Regions from separate parts of the Homo sapiens genome. Here all the other regions are linked to region 4. The links are contacts of gene promoters, found by promoter capture Hi-C in blood cells and fetal thymus (Javierre and others, 2016). All regions are on one chromosome and are shown on one strand. The core of a region is centred on a gene start or on the middle of the fragment in contact, and the rest is flanking DNA. Distances in the headings are between cores, read along the strand shown.

Evidence for each region. The method cuts DNA at HindIII sites, captures the fragments that hold promoters and counts their contacts. A CHiCAGO score of 5 or more calls a contact.
Region 1: a contact is called between a fragment that was not itself captured here and the fragment with the promoter of NKD1-AS1 in region 4, in 5 of 17 cell types (total CD8 T cells, total B cells, erythroblasts and 2 more). The highest score is 10.5, in total CD8 T cells.
Region 2: a contact is called between a fragment that was not itself captured here and the fragment with the promoter of NKD1-AS1 in region 4, in 6 of 17 cell types (naive CD4 T cells, total CD8 T cells, non-activated CD4 T cells and 3 more). The highest score is 8.1, in naive CD4 T cells.
Region 3: a fragment that was not itself captured here is called in contact with the fragment with the promoter of NKD1-AS1 in region 4 in 5 of 17 cell types (total CD8 T cells, naive CD4 T cells, naive CD8 T cells and 2 more); the score reaches 8.5 in total CD8 T cells.

Annotation. Positions count from the first base shown.
Region 1 is chr16:49,990,020-49,994,453 of GRCh38, reverse strand. No RefSeq gene overlaps it. Among named protein-coding and RNA genes, the nearest start is that of CNEP1R1, 33 kb to the left of the region's middle. The HindIII fragment of the contact is 1,262 bases long and covers 2,527-3,788 here.
Region 2 is chr16:50,054,386-50,058,254 of GRCh38, reverse strand. The region is part of intron 2 of HEATR3-AS1 (HEATR3 antisense RNA 1); the gene reads left to right. It also overlaps the pseudogene ACTG1P16. Among named protein-coding and RNA genes, the nearest start is that of HEATR3, 9.6 kb to the left of the region's middle. The HindIII fragment of the contact is 174 bases long and covers 1,700-1,873 here.
Region 3 is chr16:50,083,236-50,087,259 of GRCh38, reverse strand. It overlaps HEATR3 (HEAT repeat containing 3), which reads right to left. Exons shown (of 15, transcript NM_182922.4): 8 at 3,233-3,323; 9 at 2,969-3,126; 10 at 2,609-2,691; 11 at 909-1,045. Among named protein-coding and RNA genes, the nearest start is that of HEATR3-AS1, 19 kb to the right of the region's middle. The HindIII fragment of the contact is 2,772 bases long and covers 1,126-3,897 here.
Region 4 is chr16:50,611,366-50,615,578 of GRCh38, reverse strand. It overlaps NKD1-AS1 (NKD1 antisense RNA 1), which reads left to right and starts at 1,929. Exons shown (of 3, transcript XR_007065197.1): 1 at 1,929-1,988. The region is part of intron 4 of NKD1 (NKD inhibitor of Wnt signaling pathway 1); the gene reads right to left. The HindIII fragment of the contact is 2,641 bases long and covers 923-3,563 here.

The sequences.
Region 1 (4,434 bases), core at 1,908-4,407, 620 kb after region 4:
AATCCCAGCATGGAGAATTTAAGATGGCTGTAAATTCTTTAACATTCCTTATATCACAGGGTCTAAGACCCCTTCTCTTGAATGAGGGTTCTCTTTGCTATTGCTTGGATCTATAGAATACAGCAAAAATGATGCTGTGTGTAGTAAGATAAGGCTGTAAACCAGTAAGAACTGATTCTTTTGCTTTAGGGAATTCATCCAAGCCAATTTATCTGGACAGTTTGCTGAACGAGCTCTCCCATCTGGGTAACAGATTGCTCATCTGGGAAAACAGCTTGCCTATCAAACAGCAGTTTCACTGATTGAGACTGGTTTTAAGACCCTTGCCTTGATGTGTTCACCAATCCTAAAGTATCATGTCATGAAATGTGCCCAATCCCAATCAATTTCTGTCTTGAAAGACCTTCTTTGAACCACTTGAGCCCAGATCCCAATAATATACATTTCCTTTCCTCGCCTTCCCCTTTCTAAAATACTATGAAGATTGTCAAGATGGTGGTCTCCATGACTGCAGAACATCTAACAAAGTTAGCTTTGCTTGATGGCTTGTTTTTTGGTTTTTTGATGGTCTTTTGAGGAGCTGACAGGCTATGAGGTAAGCATTGTTTTGTAAAACTTGAGTTTCAGTTTTATACTGATGTGTCTGTGTCTGTGTGTGTACTGAGAAATGATGTAAAATGAATCTCAGCTGTGGGTGATAAGCTGTGTTGTTTCATTGTTGTCTTCTCATACTAGAATGTAAGCTGATGACCACAGAAATTTTATCCTCTCCGCCATACCCCCAATGTTTTGAACAATTTCTGGCACACAAATGTCTTTCTCTCTCTCTCTCTCTCTTTTTTTTCTTTGAGATGGAGTTTCACTCTTATTGCCCAGGCTGGAGTCCAATGGCATGATCTCGATTCACTGCAACCTCTGCCTCCCAGGTTCAAGCAATTCTTCTGCCTCAGCCTCCTGTGTAGCTGGGAATACAGGCACCTGCCCCCATGCCCAGCTGAATTCTGTATTTTTGGTAGAGATAGGGTTTTGCCATGTTGGCCAGGCTGGTCTCGAACTCCTGACCTCAGGTGATCCACCCGCCTCGGCCTCCCAAAGTGCTGGGATTACAGGCATGAATAACCACCACATCTGGCTTCTTTTTTTTTTTTTTTGAGACAGGGTCTTACTCTGTCACCCAGGCTGGAGTAGTGAGGCAATCCTAGCTCACTGCAGCCTTGACTTCTGCAGCCCCTGCACCCCTACCACCTCACAAAGGGGGAGTTTGGGGAGGCCCAGGGGCACCTCAGATCCTCAGTTTTCCTACTCCTTGTGGGCCTCAGTTTCCCTAGATGAGAAACGGGCATGTTGACCCCAGAACTCAGGGAGATCCAGCAGCTGCTCAGGGTCCCTCCGGCCTCCCCTGCGGCCTGCGGGCTTGTCCGCTTGATTTCCCATCTTGGCACGTGCTCCCCACGTGTAGGCTGGTGCCATCTGGGTCAGCCCTTGGGAGAATGTGGCTGCCTCCATTCCTAACCTCCTTCAATATTTATGGAGGCAGTGAATTTGGGGATTATACCCGGCTTCTGGAGTCAGACCTAGATGTGAATCTGGTTGGACCACTGCTGAGCTGTGTGACCCAGGGCAAGGCACTTTACCTCCTTGTGCATCTGTTTTCTCATCCCTAAAATGGGGATAATAACAGAACGTACCTGTAGGACTTTTTGGTGGTTAAATGAGTTAATATGGATAAAGGTTTGGATCAGAGTGAACCTTCTGATGCACCGTTATCCACCTGCCTCCACTTCCCTGCCTGTCACCACAGTTATAATCTTGCTTCTGTGTTTACTTAATCACTGTTTCGACTGCTTAACGTTTGATGAATACTTTTTCCACAAGAAGCAGGACAGAGCAAAGACAACTTTGCTCACCCTGTATCCCAGCACCTAGCAGGTGTCTGAGTGGAGGAGTCTGAGGCAAGTTTGGCCAGGCTAGGTGGTAAGAAGTGAGTTTGACGGTTCTACATCAGTCTGAAAGAAGAATTTCAACAAGTACTGTAGTCCCTCCTATCCATGGTTTTGTTTTCCTCCATTTAAGTCAGTCAACCTCGGTCTGAAAATATTAAGATAATTTGGCTGGGTGCAGTGGCGCAAGCCTGTAATACCAGCACTTTGGGAGGCCGAGGCGGGTGGACCACCTGAGGTCAGGAGTTTGAGACCAGCCCGGCCAACATGGTGAAACCCCCTCTCTACTAAATACAAAAAATTAGCAGGGTGTGGCAGCGCATTCCTGTAATCCCAGCTACTTGGGAGGCTGAGGCAGGAGAATCACTTGAACCTGGGAGGCAGAGGTTTCAGTGAGCCGAGATTGCACCATTGCACTCCAGCCCGGGCAACAATAGCAAAACTCCATCTCAAAAATAGATATAGATAGATAATTTGGGAGAGAGAACACATTCACATAACTTTTATTATAGTATATTGTTATAATTGTTCTCTTTTATTATTGTTGTTGTTAATCTCTTACTGTGCCTAATTTATAAATTAAGCTTTATCATAGTTAATGTGGGTATAGGAAAAATAATAGTATTTTTATTTTTTATTTTATTTTATTTTTTTACAGAATCATAGGCTTCAGTACTATCCATGGTTTGAAGTATCCACTGGGGGTCTTGGAACATATCACTTTGGGGGACTGTTGTATAGGAGGGTTGGGTCTGATACGGAAGCTCAGTCTCCAGGGAAAATCAGTTAAGGTCAGTATTACCATTGAAGGACATGGGTTCTTGAAAGCCCCACACCTTTTTTAAATTTTAATTTTTATATATGTATTTATTTTTGGTTATCTTTGTATTTCAGCTTTGTCCCAGTCCCAGGGGCAGTGGAGGTCAAGAGTTGTTTTGCAAGGTAAATGCCTCCTGTGGGGCTTTCCCATAATGAAAGGATGAGAGAGAAAAGATGCAACCTGACATTTGGTGTTGGCTGGCTGGCTTGCTTTCTTGTCTTCTCTCTTTCTCTTTCTCCTTCTCTTCCTATAAACTAAATGAGCTAAATCAGAGCAAGACACAATCTTGCTCTGCTACCCAGGCTGCAATGCAGTGGCACGATCATAGCTCACTGTAGCCTCTACCTCCTGGGCTCAAGCGAGCCTCCCACCTCAGACTCTTAGGTAGCTAGGACCACAGGCATGAGCCACCATGCCCAGCTAATTTATATGTGTGTGTGTGTGTGTGTGTGTAGCTGGGGTTTTGTGTGTGTGTGTGTGTAGCTAGGGTTTCCCTATGTTGCCCAGGCTGGTCTGGAACTCCCAGCTTCAAGTGACTCTCCCTCCTTAGCTTCCCAAAGTACTGGGATTACAGGCATGAACCACTGTGCCCAGCCTAGTGTTGGCCTTCTAATGGTTCTCTCAGTTAATATTGAGAATGCACTGAAATCCCCAGCACTTGCTCTGGGGCAGGTGACTTCTAGCTTCTAGAGTGAGGTCTCATCCTCCCAGTTGCCATGGCAGTGAGCTGACATGGGGTGGGGGCCCTATTCCCAAGCTCTTGGTGGAAAAAAAATGAATTTCCCTCTTGTACCTTTGTAAGTTGACAGTAAAGTATTTTTCATTATACTCCTAAAGAGTTATAAAGGATATCATTACCATCCTATCCTGTATGTATTGTATGTATGTTTTAACTATATTTTAAGCAAAATCTAGGAGTTATAGATTGTTCATTTAGTGTGTGGAAATTGTCTGGCAAAGCACCTCACTGGCCAACATGGGCCTCAATGTGTAATCCAGAAGTCTGACTTCATTTTATTAAAAAAGCTTTATGTTTTAGTGAGGTATAATTTACATATCACAAAATTCACTCATTTTAAATTTAACAATTTTTAGTAAACTTATATTAATCACTGCCACAATCAATTTTAGATTATTTCTTTTATTATTATCAATTTTTTAAGCACCAGTTTGCTATTGAAATAACATTTTCATCAAACCAAAAAGATGCCCTGAGCCTATTTTCAGTCAGTCACTCCCCATTTCACCCCAGGCAACCAATGATCTACTTTCTTTTTCTATGAATTCACCTTTTCTGGCTATTTCATATAAATGGAATCATAAACATATAATACGTAGCGTTTTATGACTGGCTTTCATTTCAGCACGTTTTGAAGTTCAGCCACCTGGTAGCATGTATCAATACTTAATTCCTTTTTATTGGTGAATAGTATAATATTTCATTGTATGGATATACTACATTTTTTTTCTTTTCTTTTTTCTTTTCTCTTGGCCTCTTGAGTAGCTGGGGCTAAGGTGCATGCCACCATGCCTGGCTAATTTTTTAATTTTTCATAGAGATGGGGTCTCATTATATTGCCCAGGCTGGTCTTGAATTCCTGGCCTCAAGCAATCCTCCCAACTCAGCCTCCTGAGTAGCTGGGACTATAGGTGTGAGCCACCATGCCTGGCTAT
Region 2 (3,869 bases), core at 537-3,036, 560 kb after region 4:
GGCGGCTCCATCCTGGCCTCCCTGTCTACCTTCCAGCAGATGTGGATTAGCAAGCAGGAGTACGAGGAGTCAGCCCCCTCCATCATCCACCGCAAATGCTTCTAAATGGACTGCGAGCAGATGCCTAGCATTTGTGGCGTGGATTAATTCAGAAGAATAAATTTGCCCCTGGCAAATGCATACACCCCATGCTAGCCTCATGAAACTGGAATAAGCCTTCAAAAAGAAATTCGTCCTTGAAGCTTGTATCTGATATCAGCACTGGATTGTAGAACTTGTTGCTGATTTTGACCTCATATGCAAGTTAACTGTTCCCTTGGTATTTGTTAAGTATTCTGTACATATCTTGGATCTCAACCCTTAGTACATGTGGCTTGGTCACTTTGTGGCTGAGGTAAGAACGTGCTTGTGGAAGACAAGTCCATGGCTTGGTGGGTCTGCGTGGCCAGCAGTCTCCCACGAGTGCAGGGTGTTAATGTGTTAGGGCTGAGTGTTCTGGGATTTCTCTAGAGGCTGGCAAGGGCTCCTGAACCAGTTGTTTCTGTTCTGCTGGTCTGTCAGGGTTGGAAAGTCCAAGCCATAGGACCCAGTTTCCTTTCTTAGCTGATGTTTTCCTGCCGGAATACCATGGCTGTTACTTGCCTTGAGTTGGAAGTGGTTTGCATTTACACCTGTAAATGTATTCATCCCTTTAATTTACGTAAGGTTTGTGTGTGTGTGTGTGTGTGTGTGTGTGTGTGTGTATGCAATTCTCAATTCTTTAAGAGATGACAACAAATTTTGGTTTCTTACAGTTATGTGAGAACATTAGGCCCCAACAACACGAGTGCGTAAGGAAAAATAAAAGTGCTGATGAAAAAGAAAAAAAGAAAAATTATCCAAAACTTGGAAATAAGCAAAAAGGATAGCTGCACATTTTTTCTGTTTCTTTTCTTTATATATGTTTTTTAAATCTTTTTTTGAGACAGGGTCTTGCTCTCTTGCCCAGGCTGGAATGCAGTGGTGTGGTCTTGGCTCACTGCAACTTTCACCTCCTGGGCTCTAGCCATCCTCCCACCTCAGCCTTCCGAGTAGCTAGGACTACAGGTGCCCACCACCATGCCCAGCTGATTTTTTTTTTTTTTTGTAGAGATGGGGTTTCACCATGTTGCCTAGACTGGTCTCGAACTCCTGAGTTCAACTGATCTGCATGCCTCAGCCTCCCAAAGTCCTGGGATTAAAGGCATGAGCCACTGCACCTGACCTGCATATTTTTTTCAATATTACATTGTCCCAATGTCTAACAGACCCATGAAATGATTATTTCTCTAAGGCAGTACCATCAAGCAGAGTTTTCCACAAAGAGGAAAATGTTCTCTGCCTGCCCTGCCCAGTAGAGTAGCTACTAGCCAAACATGGCTATTTTGTTGTTGTTGTTTTATTTTTTTATTTTCTTTTTTTTTGTAGAGATGAGGTCTCTCACCCTGTTGCCCAAGCTGGTCTTAAACTTTTGCCCTCATGCAATCCTCCTGACTTGACCTACCAAAGTGCTGAGATTACAGGAGTGAGCCACTGCACTTGGCCCACAATTGGCTACTGAACACTTGAAGTAAGGCTACTGCTAGGAACTAAATTTTCAATTTTGGTTAATTAAAAACATTTTTTGTTGTTGATGCCTGCCCAATTTTCCAACAAGCCAGATGTCCATAGAACTGAAGCTTGAGAAACGTACGTTTCTTCTGTGGGATGCCCCTGCTGCCTGTTGACCAACTCCTCTTCCTTGCTGCTCCTGTTATCCTCCCATGATGTGTAAACACCTACCTTTAGTCAGGGAGGAGGAATGGATTTGAGGTTTATTTCCGGTCTCTCCCAGTGATGTCACCTGAAGAAAGCTTTCTTCCCTGCAATACTTGTTGTCTCAGTGATTGGCTTTCTGTATATCAAGCCTAGGACCTAGACTGAACCCCTGGTGTTCATTAACATTATGACATTAAAAAGTAAATAAAAATAAAATAAAAATAAAAATAAATAGCTACACGTGACTAGATGCGATGCATTTGTAAAGTGCAACTCTAAAGCAGTGCGTCTGACCTGGGGGCAATTTTGCCTCCCTGTGGGACATTTGGCAATGTCTGGAGACATTTTGGTTGTCACAACTGTGGGGGTGCTACTAGCATCTAATAGGTAGAGGTGGGTACCACTGACAGTGTGGGCTGGATAATTCTCTGTTGTGGAGGTTGCCAGTCTGGGCTGGATAATTCTTTGTTGTGGAGGCTGTCCTGTGCATTGTACAATGTTTTAACAGCACCCCTGGCCTCTACCCACCAGATGCCACTAACACTCCCCAGTGGTGACAACCAAACATGTCTTTGGCCATTGCCAAATGTCCTCTGGGAGGCAAAATCACCTTTAGTTGAGAATCATTGCTCTAGAGAAATATATGTTTTTGTTTGACTGACCATTTACTTAGGGGCCTAGACTCTATGAAATTAGATGTGAATTTATATATGAATAAATTGCAAATGATTTTGATTTTGTCCAGTTGAGATGCAAATTATTTCTGTCCAGCAGAAAAGATAACCCCAAAGGATAGAATTTCGTTGCCCTGTAGAATATTAACCAGTTTCATATCTAACCTAGAAATCCCATTTAAATACATTTTTCCACACTGACTATATAAATTTCTGTTTCTCTGTTGAACCAGTTTTACCATCCTCCCAGTTCCTTCATTAAAGAACATGTACATGCTCACCCTATGTGTATACGAAGGTCAAAATTTTAACTTGAAAACCATCCTTTGATACTGTTTATCCATAAGGAAAGAAAGGTGTTCACCAGGCACTATGAAGTAAAAAGGCAGGTTACAAAGCAGCATAAATAGCATAATCACACTTTTGGAAACACACAAAACAGAGAAAAACTCATGGAAGTATATATACCTGGACCTTTCACATTTGTAAAAATGGAAAAAAAAAAAAACCGAAACAAAGCGTATGTACCAAAATGTTTCCTGTGTTTGCCTCTGGGCAGAATTAAAGGAGATATATATATATAGATATATATAGATATATATATAGATATAGATATAGATATATATAGATATAGATATAGATATAGATAGATATAGATATATATAGATAGATATAGAGATATATAGATAGATATATCTATATAGATATCTCTATATCTATCTATATATATCCATATATCTATATCTATATCTATATCTATATCTATATATATTTTTTTTCAGATGGAGTTTCGCTCTTGTTTCCCAGACTGGAGTGCTGGAGCGCAGCAGTGTGATCTCAGCTCACTGCAACCTCCGCCTCCCAGGTTCAAGTGATTGTCCTGCCTCAGCCCCCCGAGTAGCTGGGACTGCAGGCACGTGCCACCACGGCCAGCTACATTTTGTATTTTTAGAGACAGGGTTTCACCGTGTTGGCCAGGCTGGTCTCCAACTCCTGACCGCAGGTGATCCACCCACCTTGGCCTCCCAAAGTGTTGGGATTACAGGCGTGAGCCACCACGCTGGGCCAGATACTTTTTAAAAAGTCTGATTATTGCCCTGTTTGTATTTTCTGGGTTTTCCAAAATGATTGGGTAGTACTTACATAATTTTTTAAATTATGAAATTTTTTTAGAAGAAATACGATGCAATTCTGGCCTCCTCCACACAGTCCCCATCCTTTTCTATTTCCCACATGCCCACCTGTGACCCCCCAGTGGCTGCCTTTGGCTCTCAGAAGACTCATTTGGTATCTGGACACCAGGTTAGTTGCAGCACAAGTATTTCATGTAGTACAAAGATCTTACATTTGTAGAACTTTTTTTTTTTTTTTTTAAGAGACAGGGTCTCACTCTGTCACCCAGGCTGGAGTACAGTGCTG
Region 3 (4,024 bases), core at 1,262-3,761, 530 kb after region 4:
TTGAAGAAAGATACATGTTAGATGATGGCAAGGTGTAGAATTGTGTGGATGGTATTCTACCATTTGCCTTACACACACGCACGCATGCCCGCATACACACGCTCTCTTATACATGGAGAATCTCTCTGGAAGGATACACAAGTAACTGGTGCAACAGTAACTTGACTCTGGGAGAGGAACTGGGTGTCGGAGAAAGGAGGGAGGCTTTCCAGTTTCTGTCCTCTAATAACTTTTGAATTCTGTACTACATACATATATTAATCAAACTTAAATGCTTGTAACTGGGAAGAAAATAATAGAATAGTACTCAATTATTATTATTATTATTTTGAGATGGAGTTTTGCTCTTGTTGCCCAGGCTGGAGTGCAATGGCACAACCTCAGATCACTGCAATCCCCACCTCCTGGGTTCAAGCGATTCTCCTGCCTCAGCCTCCCGAGTAGCTGGGATTACAGGCATCTCCACCACCACGCCCAGTTAAAGTTTTGTATTTTAGTAGAGCGGTTTCATCATGTTGGCCAGGCTGGTCTCCAACTCCTGACCTGAGGTGATCCTCCCGCCTCGGCCTCCCAAAGTGCTGGGACTACAGGCATGAGCCACCGTGCTTGGCTGAGAATTATCCAAATACCTTAATGAGGCCTTTATGATATTTATGATACAGCCTTGACTGGCCTGATATAACTGGATGCAAACAATTTTAACAAAAAAGAAAATTATAAGCCCAGGAGCTGCTTGCATACCTCGTTTTGACTCTGTACCCCATGGCAACTATAAATACATGATTCCTGTGTCTGGGAAAGGTTTCTGCACATTGGATGACAAACAATATACATTTACAAAATCCAAATTCCTGCCCCTTCAAAATTCTGTTCCGTCTGCGTAGTCTTTCGCAATAAAGTCTAAATACCTGGTTGAGAAAAAAGCAGCTGTGACAGATGCTGTGCAAGCGTCTGAAGGGCTGCGGCTCCTCCCAGGTGCTCCACATCCAGGAGGGACACAAGACTCTGGAGACAGAAGAGGGCTCTGCACTGAATAGTGTTCATTCTGGAAAGGAAGTGAAACAATGCCATCTGATTCTCCAGAAGTTGCCCATCAGAATTCAGTATTAACTTTTAGCCTAAGCTTCACGTTCTGACTGGAAATATCTGTAAATACAAGGTATCTATGGCAGTTAGCAAAGAATCACAAGGTGAACTGTTTTTTGTGTTTTCTAAAATTTATCATCATTTTTTAGACAGGGTCTTACTCTGTTGCCCAGGCTGGAGTGCAGTGGTGTGATCACAGCTCGCTGTAGCCTCAACCTCCTGAGCACAAGTGATCCTCCTGCCTCAGCCTCCTAAGGAGCAGGATTACATGTGCATGCAACCACACCTGGCTAAGTTTTTTATTTTTTGTAGATAGGGGTCTTGCTATGTTGCCCAGGCTGCTCTGGAACTCTTGGCCTCAAACAATCCTCCTGCCTGTACCTTCCAAAGTGCTAGAATTATAAGGTGAACTGTTAATCTGCCAAATCAAACTGCTTGAATATTCACGGCCTCTGATACACAACTCATTCATGAGTCATGAGGAATATGTTTTAGAAAAATTTCTATGTAGGGTAGCATCCTTAAAATTATAATTTTCTTCAGACAGGGTCTCATTCTGTTTCCCAGGCTGGAGTACAGTGTCACCATCATAGCTCACTACAGCCTTAGACTGCTGAGCTCAAGCAATCCTCCCACTTCAGCCTCCTAAGTAGCTAGGACTACAGCTGAGTGCCACTATGCCAGGCTAATTTTTGTATTTTTTTTTCCTTTGTAGAGATGGGGTCTTGCTATGCTGCCCAGGCTGGTTTCAAACTCCTGGCCTCAAGTGATCCTCCTACCTTGGCCTCCCAGAGTCCTGGGATTATAGGTGTGAGCCACCATGCCCAGCCTAAAATTATTTTTAATTGTGAAATGTGACATATATACAGTTAAGTACACAACATACATAGAGAGTTTAACAAACAGTCTATGAAACCAAAACCCATGCACCTGGGAAAGAAATTAACACTGCTGGACCCTGAAAGCCCCTGTATCTCTTCCATATAATATCCCACCTCCCTGACACCTACAGGTAAGCACCATACAGACTTCTATGGTAAACATTTCCTTGCCTCTTTTTTTTTTTAATAGGTTTATCACCAAGGTATGCATCCCTGAACAAAATAGTTCAATGTTGCCTGTTTCTCAACTTTGTAAAAACTGAATCACAGTGTGTGTATTCTTTTATGTCTCGCTTTTTTGGTTCAACAATGTAAGTTCCATCCGAGTTGTGAGTAGCTCTAATTCAGATCCCTTTTACTGCTGCATGTATTGTACTGCGTGATTTTGTCAAAATTTATTTACCATTCTAACTCTGATGGACAACACGTTTGTTTATGGGTTGGGGCAACTGTGACACACACTGCTATGAACACTCTCATATACATGTATTCTAGGGCATGTGGGCACATATTTTTCTGGTATATATACCCAGGAACAAAACTTCTGGGTCCTAGGGGGAGTCAGCACCTTCTATTTAATAGCCCATCATTTCATAAAATAAAATAATGACAAATGTTTTTGAAAGCAGAAGAGTTCTTACTTTCTAATCAAAGGTTTCCAAGTAGGGTTCCTAGAACATAGGTCAACTGCAATGCTGTTTGGAAAGGCAGTTTTCTCAAAAATCTAGATTTAAAAGAGGCAGTAAAGCAAAGGTTAAAGAGTAGTCATTTAACACGATTCCCTTACATAATTCCAACATATTACTCCTAAGTGAAATGGTTAGGCTTCATATAGAATGACCTTTTCGCCTATTTCCAGTACTGTTAGGCTCAGCTTTGTCTCAGATCTTACCACCATCTACAACCTGGAAGTGTGAGCTTGCTTCTTTTGTACACAAAATGAATACCTTGCTTAAGCCTTTCCCATGCTCCACGGTAAGCCTAGAATGAAAATGGATTACCTTCTTTGGGATGAGGTAGTTGGTGAGAGCCGTGTGAACTTCATGGGAGAGGCAGAGGGGAGAAAACAGCTGTCCCCCGCACTCACTGAAGGAATTCTCCATAAATGCGTCACTTTCATCACTGCTAGAAAGCTCTTCCCATTCGTCATCAGAGGGATCTGGGAAGCGGGCAAACCACGCAGAACTGGAATAGTTAAGAAAATCTCCACGGGAGTTTCCCTCTTGGCTCAGGGGGAAAATGTCTAAATGTAAATGTTAACAAACCTTCATTGCAGCACATGTTGACAATAATTTCCAGAGCAGTCTGTTGGGCTGTCAGCAATGCTATAGTCTCTCTCAGTTCCTTGTCAGTGGGCTTAAAAAAAAAAAAAAAAGTAAATGACCAACTCTCAATGGTTGGGAAAATGTTTTTGGGGAATTTCCTTAGTGAAAGCCTACTAGAAGATTTTTGCGCTTGGAATAGAGCACACGGGGAATGGGGTAGGTAAAAGAAAAGTCATGAAGTGCCAGAAGTACAAACGAGCATTATAATTCCTCTTGGTACAGTGGAGCATGCCCCCGTTAACTGGGTTTCCATCTATCTGCATGGCTATTCCCCAAGCGTCACTTAGTTAGCTGGAGAGAACAGACAAATATTCAGGAATTCTGAACAGAATTCACCCTGAAACTTATCTACTGTGTCAAGAAGTAGCTGGGCATACTAAGATTTAAACAAGAGTTCATTTCAGACACCAGGCACTTAGAAACACCAAACCTGCTTTTAGATGCTTAGCTTAGATGTCTTTCTTGGAATGGCTGCGCTAACACACACTACTAACGAGCCCTTATGTGACCTGTAGAACTTGCTATGGAGCAGACAGACTTGCTTCCTGCCTTTCTGTAAAGACTATAATAAAGCATTTCTCTAAGACTAAAGAAAGAAGGAAGCTTTTTTTTTCTCTGAAAATATATAACGCCAACTTAAACTTAACATTATCAACCAACATTTCTTAAAATGGGTAATATAAATTTATATAACCTTAATTATCAAATTGTCTATGGAAAGTGAAATAACCA
Region 4 (4,213 bases), core at 680-3,179:
CCTGCCATGCTCTCACGCTGTTATCCCTGCCAAGAACACTCTTTCCAGCTCTGCAATTCCCACTCATCCTTCAGGTCTTCAGTTTAAGCCTCCCTTCCTCTGAGCAGCATGCTGTCACACCCTCAGGGCTAGGTTAGGCTTCCCTGCTCAGTGAGCCTTATTACACCATCATTATATCACTCATTTAATCATCAGAATCTTCCATCAGCCCAATATCTATACCCTGAGATATATATGTCTATAGTGCAGTGTCTATCACACTATAGGTGCTGCATCATCAGCAGCATCATCAAAATGAAACAACGGTAAGTAGCAGAACCAGGATTTGAACCCAGAAGTTGTGGAACAAAGAGAACTAAATCCCAGTTTCCCAACTCCTCAACCACTGGCCTGTCCACTCTCTCAGACCACAATAGCTGACACCTGTTCCTGCCTGTCCAGCAATCCTTCTCCTCCTTCTGATGATAGCATCTGGCTTTCCTCCCCAGAGCTACTCATCCCCCACTCTCAGTCTATCTAGTTTATGGAGACTGATCCCACTCCAGGGTCACACTGCACTCAGTACCCCTACCTGACCCAGCTTGTTTCATCCTGAAGGCCACGTGGCTGGTCCTAGGTCAGTATGAAAGAAGAGTTTATGAAGAAGCTAATGAAGCTAGGCTTCTGGGCCCTCTCACCTACACGGGCCCTTTCCAAGTCAGGATGGGTCTTTGCAAGGTGTTTATGTGGTCATATGTGTTTGTATTTGTAACATTTTCCAAATTAGGCATTTTATCCTCAATCTATTAAGATTGTCATCTAACCATTCTGACATCCTTTGCCTGTGTGAGGTGATACTAGGGGAAATACAGGCATTTCTGGACATGAGCTAAGGAGAGACTGAGTTGGTGAGATATTTATTTTGGTTTGGCCCCAGAAAGCTTCAGGTCCCATAAAACCTAGATCTACCCTGGTCAAGTGACCAGTAAAGTGGTCAATAAAGTGAGTCCAACATGTGCAAGAACCCCTGTGACCTGGGAACTTTCTTCCACCTGACAGGGCTGTGCTCATAGGATGGGAGTGCCCAGAGCTGGGAACTGCCACCCTTGCCCCCTGTGGGGGAGAAGCCACCAGGGGACAGAGGGAGAGATGATGGAGAGGGAGAGAGAGGGGCAGCGAGCGAGACATGTGTGTGAATGTGTGAGTATACGTGTGTGTGTGAGTGTGTGTGTGTGCGTGCATGTGTCCATGACATGGTTTTAGCTCCAGAATCCAAACAGGCCTTTTTAGGCAAGATCTACCCTAGGATTTTTCAATTTCATGAGCCAAAAGTTTAAGTGAGTTTCCAAAAGAACCGAAAGAATCCTGACTTAACAAATCCGTCTCTCTGAGATCCTGCTTTTTAGGAAAAACCACCAGCACCAGCACCACAGCAGTAATTCACTCACCCAGGGCAGTCCCTCTAGGGTGATTTCCAGCTTTTTCACCTGTGGGTGTCTGCCCCTTCCTGAGACCAGAAATGCCACCAGGGACTTCTTCTCCACCATCCTGCCTCCCAGCTGCATTTTACTGCCACTAGATTTTGCTTATGGACCAATTGTAACTGAGGGGAAACAAAAAAGGGGGAAAAGCGGGTAGGGGAGGAAATCCTTCTCAACAAATAACATTCTGGCCTTTTTTTCCTCATCAGAGCATAAGGCTGGTGGCCACTCGGCTTTGACATCTGAACAGGATTGAGACGAAACATCTGTTCAGGGAGGGAGGGGGAAGCCCCGGGAGAGAAGGGGAAAGGGGAGAAAAAGCCTTCTGTGGGCTAAAAATATCACGTCCCTTCCACTCTCCCCCGCCCGCCCCCACCCAAGTTAAAACATGTGATGAAATTCGGCTTTTACAATCTAACCCCGAGCTACTTGAAACTATTAAAGCCTCTCCGGTATCTGACACAAGTCAGAATTTCCACTGTTCCAGCTGAGCTTTTATGAGGAGCAGACTTGAGAGAAACTGCCAAGGTAACAAAGTCCGCTTGTTCTCTGTCACCGCTGCAACTCAGCTTCTGGGGGGACTGTAGGGGAGTGGAGAGTCAGGGCCGCTGACACCCCCCGACAGGACAGGCTCTGAACTGAGGGAGAGGAGCCGGCGGGGCATGGGCACCTGCCCCTCCATCTGGGGGTCCCTGCTGCCTTCCCATGAACTCCTCTTCCTCCCAGCCTTCCTGGGAAGCCACCGCCAGCCCTGTGTATTGAGGAGCCTTGCCCGAGAGTCCCGGGCAATGTCCGTGGCTACTTCCTGAGAAGTCTTGACTCGCTCTCTCTCTCTGTTTCTTGCCCAACTGCTCCTTGAACCCCAAGCTCCAATCACCAGGTATCCCACGGCCTCCTCGGTACCTCTCCTTGGATGTTAAATGGGCATCTTGAACCCAACTGGTCCAAAAACGGGAGGCTTGATGGTCACCCGCCAAAACCTCCACCTCAGAAGTGACACCGCCAAATCCTTAGTTCCTGAAACCAAAAGTCTAAGATGCATCCCTGATCTCTCTCGTTCCCTCAACCCCCTTCTCACCAGCTCCAACCTCCAGCCCCATGGACCTCTCCCCAGCCCCAAGCTCCCAGGCTAGGCCAGCACCATCTCCTCTCGCCTGCGACCCTGCAGTCACCTCCTGGTTTCATTGCCCTCTTCCTCCCTGCCCATGGGCAGTCCCTCCCAGAAGCCAGAATTAACTTCTTAAAACAGAGGTCAGAATCCAGCAGTCACCCACCCAACCATCTGGGCAGAACCACGCAACCTAAGGGCGTGGTCCCACACTTGCCGACCACCCCACTCTCATTCCTGATGCCACATCGGCCTCCTTTTTGTTCTTCCCCAAACACCAAGTTCCCTCCACTCTGGGGTTCTGCTCACTCATAGCTGCTCTCCCCCTACATTCTTCCATGGCTGGCTCCTTCCTGGCATCTGCATCTCAGCTGAAACATCACCTTCTCAGAAAAGCCTCCTCACTCTACCTCTCCCTGGGTTTTACGTCTTAGCAGAGAACCACTACTAGAAACTTCCATGCTCCTTCGCAGATTTATGTATTCATCCCTGCCTCCCTCCTGTGAATGTCGTGACTGCTGGGCCTGCCTACCTTGCTCGTGCCTGTGAACCCAGGGCCCAGCAGAGCCCCTAGCTGCAGCAAATGCCCAGCACATACTGAATGGTGAGGAGTGAGGGGCCAGATTCTGTTCTCAGTCTGCTGTGTGACCCTGGACAGGTCACTTCCCTCTCTGGGCTTCAGTTTTCCAACTACAGATGAAAGGAAGTACAGGCCTCCCAAGTTCCTTTGCCCAACATCTGACCCCTGGGAGCCTGGACAGACTGGCCCAGGCCCCAACACAGGTACACAGGTCCTGCCTGAGAGGCCGGAGGGAGGGGTCACCTGCTTTCAGTGAGGCAGAGGGAGAGGTCACCTGCTTTCAGTGACTACAGGGTATTGACTTTCCTTCTTCAGTGAGTGTTTATTTATTGAGCACATACAGCATGCCAGACCCTACTCCAGGCACCAGGAGTACGGGGAGGCCTTTGGAGATTCTAACAGGATTAAAGAAGCTTTGCAAAGAGGTCCTCTTTGATCTGGGCTAGGTAAATGATTATAAACACGGGCTGACACCTCTTCAAGAAAACTGAACCCAGGAAACAAGAATCATGGCAGCTCAAGTGTGCTGGGCACTTACTCTGTACCAGGGCCACCCTTGCGACCTACATCCATCACCTCATTGTCTTCACAATAACCCTGGCAAAGAAGTGCTACAAGGAACCCAGTGAGGAAGTTGAGCCACAGGGAAGTGACTCACCCAAGGTCACACAGTGAGTGTGGGTAAGCCAGGCTGGAATGGGGTCTGAGCTGCGAATTCACAGGAAGTCAGAATCAAGGGAGGAGAGATGAGGAAGGCAAAGTTAGGGACCATTGCAGAGCTGAACAGGCCCCGAGCTCCCCGAGTGCTGCTCAGCCCCCACCAGGCCTCAGTCTTAACACTGCTCCCTGCTGGGCAGAACCACCAACTCCAGGCACATCCACCCTTGGGCTGAGGAAGCAGAGACCACCCCACGGGCTGCCACATGCGCACGCCAGGCCAGTGGGGAGAGGGCAGCAGGGCCAAAGCAAGGCCTGCCCTGGAAGCTGGGAGGCCTGGGCCTGGTCCCGAGGAGGAGGGGCTGCCTGACTTCAGTGGCTCTGAGCATCTCCTTTAGGGAAGCTGCA